2 separate regions of the Homo sapiens genome follow, and region 1 is linked to region 2. The links are contacts of gene promoters, found by promoter capture Hi-C in human tissues and cell types (Jung and others, 2019). All regions are on one chromosome and are shown on one strand. Each heading gives the region's core, a stretch centred on a gene start or on the middle of the fragment in contact. The rest is flanking DNA. Distances are from core to core; before and after follow the strand shown.

Region 1 (4,344 bases), core at 368-2,867, 76 kb after region 2:
TAAAATCATTATCTCAGTTGAAAACTGAATATTGAAGCATATGCTTAAACTTAACACAATAAATGTAAGCATTTCATGGCCATGGCACAAAAATGTGTTAAAACTATATCGTTCATCCACTGACAGTGTTGAAGAACAAAGCAGTGTCACAGAAAATAGGTTGCATTATTCTTAGAAATATATCATGCTTTGAGGGATCCTTTTTTTTAATGGAGGTCATGATCATCTTTCATAAATAATTTATCAGTTAATGGTAGTGAACAGAGTTTGAATGAGTCAAAATTCTACAATGAAATGCTCCTGTATAGGTGTAAGTATATAAATGTTATATAAATATACATATACAAATGTAAATATATAAATGTATATATTTAATGTGTATTTGCCCCTAGTTTAATTTGTCAGCAGTAACTGCTGGTTTTTATTTCTTTTTGCAAGAAATTATATAGAAATTGATTTGAGGGAGATTTAAAATAAATGTTTAGTGAGAGGAAATCTTACTCTGTCCTATCTATGGATATTGATAAACTGTACCACTGTATTCCTAACTCCTAACTTGGATATAGGAGCTTGACTATCTGCATAGATACGTAAGGGGATATGGCTGACAGGAGGAATTACAAATGTACTTATTTAACAATTAATGCTGACATAAGCTATTTGGGTAATACCTCATTTTTTTTTAGAATGAATGATGACTGTCAGTGTGACTGAGGATACAGACATGAAATTAGGAAATCGAAAATAAATATCTGTTTCCTTCAAAAAATTTGACTAGTCATTTTTTTGACTAGCTTTTTAAAAATTGCATAAGACTAACTCTTTTCGTTTGCTGTGTGTACATTAAATATGTCTGTATAGGTCCCTTTGCTTTCTTTTGCCCCACAGTAATTATGTTGAAAATTATAAACAGAGGCATTAGCATAAATTAAGGATTAAGTATGGAAATCATAAAAAACCCTACTTCCATGAAAATGAAATTTCTTTTTGAAAAGAGAAATAGGTATTATTCTACTTATTTTCGTTTAGCAAATTTTCTTATGGAACATCATTACTCTGCCTCTCAGAAGATTTGCCAAAGTGTTTAAAACTCCCTCTGAATGTTTGTACTTCAATAACCTATTGAAAGCACAACTGATTTTGTTTGTGCTAGGTTTATCTCCATTTAAAGGCAGACTCCTTCGGTGAGCTCCCCTGTGGCAATATGAGAGAAGGAAAAGAAGGAGGGAGGACCTTGCAGGACTGGTTTATATAGCAGGAAGTTAAGAGACAAGAGAGCTCTACAATTATTGAGCACAGGAAAATTGATTTCCTATTCATAGTAGTGTGGCACATGTAGAGGAGTCTTTAAAGATGATACAGCATGCCATTCCTTTCCCCTCCGTTGTGTAATCAACCAGCCAATATTTATCAAGTACCTGTTAGTTTCACTTACAGAGTACCTGTAGCTGAGTTTTCTTTTCTTTTCTGCTTTCTTTATCCCTGCTCTCTAGCTCCTGACCTGTCCATCACGAATATCAGTTTTCCATGTGCCTTAGACCTGTCTTCCATCTAATAAGACTTCACACTGCTCACTTTTCCTTTCTGACACTGAATACACATAAACAACAGAGAGCAATGTCTCTTAAACCCATAAACCCATTCAAAAACCAAAACCAAACCAAATAAAATGAATTGGTTGTATTAATTTGTATCATCCATTTACATTTTGAGAAGCATAGTCAATCAGATAAACTTACTGTTTTAATTCTAAATTCACTGACTTTCTGTCAGTCTCTATGTTCCCTATATGTAGCAGCTGGGTTAAGAATATAATTGTCTTGACAACAAATTATTGACATTTACGAGCTCAAAAGTTACCTCAGAAGCTTTTGAAATTAAAGAAATAAAAGTGTTAATTCTCTCTGATCTGAACAAGCCAGGACTCAGTGTCAGCCCTTTATAGGTCAGGCTGTGGAAGGAATGCATAGGATGAAATACCAGTGCATGCCTGGTGCACTAAAACTAAATGGGATTTCAGCAGATGAAGGGAAAGGGTGAGGAATCAAGCCTTAAATTGTCTGCCTCAGGCATGGTAAGAAGACTTGGACAGTAATAGAAACAGGAAGTGTTTGCTGTGAAGCTTGAGTATATTCAAAGTAAATCAGTTTGTGTTCCATTAAGGAATCCTGGCTCTAGGTTGGAGCCTACGCGGGATCAGTAAATTTTGCACTAGGAAATACCTAATGTCAAGCCTTAGAAAACACCTCATACTGTGGCCAGCTGTCATCAAATCCATCGCCACTGCTAGTAAAATAACTCCAAAGCAAGTGAAACTGGCAGTAATTGCACAAGTAAACGGGTTGCAAAAGAGCAAAATGGGTACGTTTCAGAACATCATTTCTGTTAGGCTCCATGTTATACTGCTTACAGTAGAAACAAATGGAAGTCGAGAGGTGAAGCCTGGCATTAAGTTTACTAGTGATCCAGGAATAACTGTTAGCAGCTGGGCCTGGGTGCTTTTTCCCTGCTTTGTCCTGGAAAGATTTCACATCTTAAGGGAAATGAACTACACACCTTGAGAAAATTTTTTTTTCTATCATATTGTATAAATCTGTGTAAATCTCATTTTCCCCCTTTTTGGAGTTAAGTAGCATAATTAACTGTAAGGCTTTTCCAAATACTTTCTTAACCCTGAAAAACTTTCCCTCGGGACTTACAGTATAGCCAAATGGATATCGATTATTGCTAAATGTAAATACATATGCACATATGAGGTGAAGCTGTATTAAAATATGGGTGGCAGTGTCTTTAACTCAGATTTGGGATGCTTTATACAGTCATGGGAAATATCAGGGGATCAACTTGAAATTCTTTAAAAGTTAACAAAATTTTGGAACGATCAAGGAACATGGGAATATGGCCTCACCTTTTCTTTCTCACTGATGACATAAATGCCGCCCTCACTGTGTTGTTTATTGTTTCTTCCAGATAATCTTTGCATACTCAGTACTTGGAATATAGAGCCATTGCCCTGTACTCATTTTTTCCTTCCTGGAGGTATAAATAGACTGATGACGCCCTATGCTCTCTGCAGTCTGTGCATCATTCATACCGTACATCTCCTTTCTAGGTCACAAAGCTTTTAAAAAAAATCAGCAGTGGTAGCAGCATGTGAGAAGATGAGCATATGACTGACTCCTTCCTTTCACCTCAGAGCCGTGCCTTTGATAGCATCCAGACAGCAGTGCATGGAAACATGACATTTGGGTGGTTCAAGAATATCAGAGGGAAAAATAGCCATTCTTACCAAATAACTTAAAAATAGCATAGTCTGAGCATTTTTCCCTTCGCCCTTTCTCCCCCAACGTGCCTGAAATGAAGCCCTTCCCATCCAAAGCAAAACTAGGAATTTGTGTTTTGTGAGAATTTGAAGAGCCTGCCTCTCTTACTACAACTGCTTTCTTCCTTCCAAATGTATAAGCTTAAGTCGTGAGAAAATGTCATCTGTCTCATTCTGCTTCCCTCTCTAGTAAAATAAAAATGGTCATGCTTTCAGACGGTCATGTATTATTGAGTGCCTACTGAGTGAGGAACCATGTGTTGAGTGTTTTGAGATGGGGTGAGGGAAAACATTATTTTTCTGCTTTCCTCGAGCTTCATTATGTGTTAGATTTCATGGTATCTAAGCCAACAGTTGGCGAGAAGGCTGATCCTTAGAGGTAATCTCACGTTCAAGGAAGGTCGGGAACAAGGTTGGTGAGTAGTGGGGACAGCGTTCTTGTTACCACTGGAGTTTGTGTCCTGGATGCCAGGTATACATCATCTTATTCTCTTCTTGATTTGTCAGTACTTTTTAGGGACCATTAGTTCTCTGCCTACTATGTGCCAGACTCTACCCTAAGCATTTAGAATTCCAGTTAACAATAGGTAAATCTTCTATTCATTTAAAATTTCATTCTAACAGCTAGTAATGTATTTGGAGGAATAAATGCCGTGAAGAAAAGCAGACCGAGTGTTATCTATAGGTAGTTATGGGAGATGTATGTTATCTTATATTGGTTGATCAGGGAGACACAAACTGATAAAGGGGCGATTGCTTATTTCTCTGAAAGAAGCAAGGAAATGAGAACCACCTGGATGGCTGAGGGAACTGCAGTCCAAGGAGAAAAAACAGCAAGCGTAAATCTCACAGGTGAGGGTGCATCAGTGGAGCAAGGGCAAGAGTGTTATGATAAGAGGTCCTGAAGGCAGCAGTGAGAAATGCCCTGGAAGCCTGTGCCAGACATATTGAGGAGTGTGGATTTTATTCTGATAAAGACATTGCAGAGGAGTGGCATCATTTCACTTGCTCTTCAGAAGAGA
Region 2 (4,170 bases), core at 1,660-4,159:
GTAAATGGATTTAGAATATATTTTAGAGACAGGATCAAGTGGATTTCCTAATCGACTAAAAGTAAAACAAGATAAACAAAGGAAAGAATCAAGACCCGTTCCCTCTTCTGGGGCCTGAGCAACTAGGTAGATGGTTATGTTCTTTACTGGGATGTAACAAGATTGAGAAAATATAGTTTGGGTGGGTAGGGGATAGGTAGGAAGGGAATTGTAAGTTAAGAATTTTGTTTTGGATACCTTATGTTTTAGGTACCTATTAGATATAAATATATAATAATCAGATAGGTAGCAGAGAATGATTGAACCCATACTACGGAACGTAAACTTACTGAATTTTACAATAGAATCCCCTGACGCTTAACTATATTTAATAAAGCTCAAATGTGAAGGGTTAGATCCTTTTCCCAAAAAACTGTAAAAACATGTTTGCTAGATTTGACTAAGTGGAAGATTTATCAAGTAAAACTTAAATTTTTATTTCTGTTGTCCATGCTCTACTATTTTTCTGCACGTACAACATTTTCCTTATTCTTTGGCTGTGTTGTCACTTTCTTGAACTAGGACTCACCACTATCTGTAGAAAAGAGGCAGTGTTTATATGTGATTGCTCCCTATCCAGTTTATGTATTGCAGCTTATTTCATTTAATATACTCTGTTAAAGGTACATTATTAGTCGCTTCTTTCAGTTAGTATAGCCCTGCAGGTTTCTGCATCTCTCTAACATTAGCATTTTGTTGTCTTTGTTCACTTGCCTCTGGGTTCTGGATGGTATGGGGAGAAAAATCTACCTTCTTTCCTTTTGATGGGACAAATAACTTTTTGATTATGATTTGTTAAAGAAACCTGGATGCCAGGACATTGCCTCCTTATTTTATTGAAGAGTTCCAGGATGTTATTAACACATGGATTTAGAATATTCTTGTTTTGCTGCCATTAGCAAATGCCATTTTTTCCTGTTACAACTTTTAAAAAACATCTGCTTCCCATACCTTAAGTGTTCAGTTTTTATGATAATATTATATTAAATTTTCTAAAGAACTGAGATAATTGTGGGGGTAGGGGACAGATAAAATTGAAATATTCTAAAATTTCCCTTACTATGCTTTTCTTTTTAACCTTGATATATGCCAGATTTTTGGTTTATTATTTTAATATGTTATTTTTGATGCCAACAGATATGAATGATTTTCCAATCAAGGTTTTTCACTCCGATGTGTCCCAGGTAGGATCTGGCATATGAATCATATGTCTAAAAAGGAAACTCATGAAAGTATGTGTGCGTGCTAGGGGGCTCATTTGTCTTTGGCAAAGACATTGCTGCTCCTGTTTCCTTAATTATTAAACAGATGGTGCCCACTGCCATTGACTAGCTGCCCAACTCATACTCCTGTGTGGTAGCACAATTCTGGACATCTGACAGAGAGAAGCTATACCTTTATAGTATATCTGCCTTCTACTAGAACAGGCTGCTTCCCATGAAGCTGTTTAAAACTTAAGTCATCTTCTCCCCCTGTCCCCATAAATTAATTTTATCTCAAGGATCTCCTTTTGGCTTTTTTTATTGCTTCATGTCTACATACAAAATACAGTGGCATATTGAATCAATTATCTAAATGCTCTAGGCTGTAAATACACTTTAACCTGGAATGTCAAGATAATTAAGACAAAATTGGATTATTAAGATTATTATTAGTGAGGGCAAATGACATCTAAGATAGCCATGTTAAAAGTGGAGTATCATATTAAAAAGACAACTAGATCCCAGGGAACATCAATAGAGTTTAAGTCCATTGAACAGATACTGAATTCTTTTTCATAATCTGCCAAAAAAAGGTTAGCTTGAAAATTTTCTTTTAGTTTCTCAAATATCACACTGCTGCAGTACACGAACCTTTACTCATTAATAACTAAGGTCCTGATTTTTTTCATATGCTTTGCTCGAAGATGTAGTATTTTGCAGCCATAGACAGTCTTCTAAGATCTCTCCTAGTGTTAACCCACCTATCCTCACCTCTCCCTTGAGATTTTTCTTTATTTTTTGATGAACTATCTGGGCTTTTAAACTTTGTTAACCTTTTTTGAGGATACGGTCACTTAATCTCAATGTAATTTTACTTTCCACAGTCAAAAACTATTGTGTAATACTCATGCACTGGATTTAAATGACTGCTGCCTCTCCTTCCTTTCTTTTTATACTATTGTGGTCTAGGTAAGGCTGATTCTTCCATCATTTGAACCAACAGGCCAGGCTTGGGTTCTCATAAAGCAGACCTTCCAGCAGGAGCGACCAAAGGATGACACTGTCACCTGAAATTGGACTGCTGTTGTACCTGACTTGGGAACATCTTTGAATCAGACAGTAGAAGTGGCTGTCATTTTCAGGGACAGTAGAAAGTATGTTGGCTCTCATCTGCCAAGTAGGCAAACACAATCTTTTTTTTTTTTTTTTCCTTCCAACGTTCTAGGGAGCTCAGCCTCAGGGCTAGCCGCAGCCCCCCACACCCCGGGGCTGCGGTGGGCTGCGCGGTGGATCAGCCTCAGCAGCCCCTGCTCCAGCCTGTAGGGTGAACCGGCCGCTTTCCCAGCAAAGGAGCAATCGAGCTGAGGGTAGCGCCTCCTCCGCAGGAGGGGGCGGGAGCTCGGCTGAGAAAGCTTTCCTAGGGAGTTGCCTTAAAGAAAGAAAGCGGAATTGTCGATCACTCCAGTTGCCAGTTTTATACAATTTTAAGCAGTCGTCGCCACTCGTTTCCCCTTTGCAAAACTGCAAATCACCACCAACCTTGCATCAAATAGAAGTGGGGAGGGAAAAAAAAAGCAAATCTCCTTCTCCCTTCTCACCCTCCCTTTCTTCTCACCCTCCCTTCCTCTCTTACTCGCTCCTTCTCCCTCCCTCCCTTCTGCGGCTGCCGCTAGTCTCTCGGTCTGGCTCTCTCTCCGACGGGACTTAGCAACTTCTTATTTCTCAGCCCCTTGTCCATTTTTTTTTTTCCATCCTTTGCCATGAATTGGATTGACAGAGGCGGGGGAGGCTTTGCTTTCTGCCCCAGGGAATGGCGATTCGCGTCCTGGGGCCGTGCCGGGGAGAATCGGCCGAGGAGAAAGAAAGAGTGATAGAAAAAGAGCTGCAGGAAGGAGGAGAAGGGAGACCTCCATCTGCCGCGGGCCCGGCGCGCTGCAGCGCAGCGCAGCGCCGAGCTGCGCCTCGGAATGGCCCGGAGCCCGCCCTGCGCCCCCGGCTCCTCCAGCGTCAGCGGCTCCTGCGCGCGGGATGCATTGGGCAATTTTTGAAATCCTGAAGTAGGAAGAGACCCCGGAGGATATAAGTCGGGGGTGGGGGTGGAGCAGAGAATCTGTGAAAGATATTCAAAGAGAGAAAAGGGGAATCCTGATCGTTTCTGCCCGTGCTTGTTTTCAACTTGAGCGTGCTAGCCTTTAACTTGAAGAAGTCTCATTGGAGCATCTAGCATTCTCCAGGAGTTATTCGAAAGCTGAAACTTTCAGTGGATTGTGGGCCTGGGGAGAAGAAGGATTCCGAGGGTGGAATTGGGAAGAGCGTGCGTGCGTGTGTGTGTGTGTGTGTGTGCGCGCGCGCGCGTGGGTCGGGGCGGGGGCGTCGGGGGGCCACTGGGAATTCAGTGAAGAGGGCACCCTATACCATGGCAGTGCCCGGCGACGCTGCACGAGTCAGGGACAAGCCCGTCCACAGTGGGGTGAGTCAAGCCCCCACGGCGGGCCGGGACTGCCACCATCGTGCGGACCCCGCATCGCCGCGGGACTCGGGCTGCCGTGGCTGCTGGGGAGACCTGGTGCTGCAGCCGCTCCGGAGCTCTCGGAAACTTTCCTCCGCGCTGTGCGCGGGCTCCCTGTCCTTTCTGCTGGCGCTGCTGGTGAGGCTGGTCCGCGGGGAGGTCGGCTGTGACCTGGAGCAGTGTAAGGAGGCGGCGGCGGCGGAGGAGGAGGAAGCAGCCCCGGGAGCAGAAGGGGGCGTCTTCCCGGGGCCTCGGGGAGGTGCTCCCGGGGGCGGTGCGCGGCTCAGCCCCTGGCTGCAGCCCTCGGCGCTGCTCTTCAGTCTCCTGTGTGCCTTCTTCTGGATGGGCTTGTACCTCCTGCGCGCCGGGGTGCGCCTGCCTCTGGCTGTCGCGCTGCTGGCCGCCTGCTGCGGGGGGGAA

Evidence for each region. Contacts are between HindIII fragments. The study calls those that stand out against the background at their distance.
Region 1: a fragment that was not itself captured here is called in contact with the fragment with the promoter of PDE3A in region 2 in 2 of the 25 tissues and cell types used here (H1 embryonic stem cells and heart right ventricle).

What each region holds. Positions count from the first base shown.
Region 1 is chr12:20,442,765-20,447,108 of GRCh38, forward strand. The region is part of intron 1 of PDE3A (phosphodiesterase 3A); the gene reads left to right. Among named protein-coding and RNA genes, the nearest start is that of PDE3A-AS1, 75 kb to the left of the region's middle. The HindIII fragment of the contact is 3,350 bases long and covers 1-3,292 here.
Region 2 is chr12:20,365,628-20,369,797 of GRCh38, forward strand. It overlaps PDE3A (phosphodiesterase 3A), which reads left to right and starts at 2,910. Exons shown (of 16, transcript NM_000921.5): 1 at 2,910-4,170. The coding sequence starts at 3,658. All of the region lies in intron 1 of PDE3A-AS1 (PDE3A antisense RNA 1), which reads right to left. RefSeq lists a silencer at 3,948-4,170. The HindIII fragment of the contact is 7,833 bases long and covers 871-4,170 here.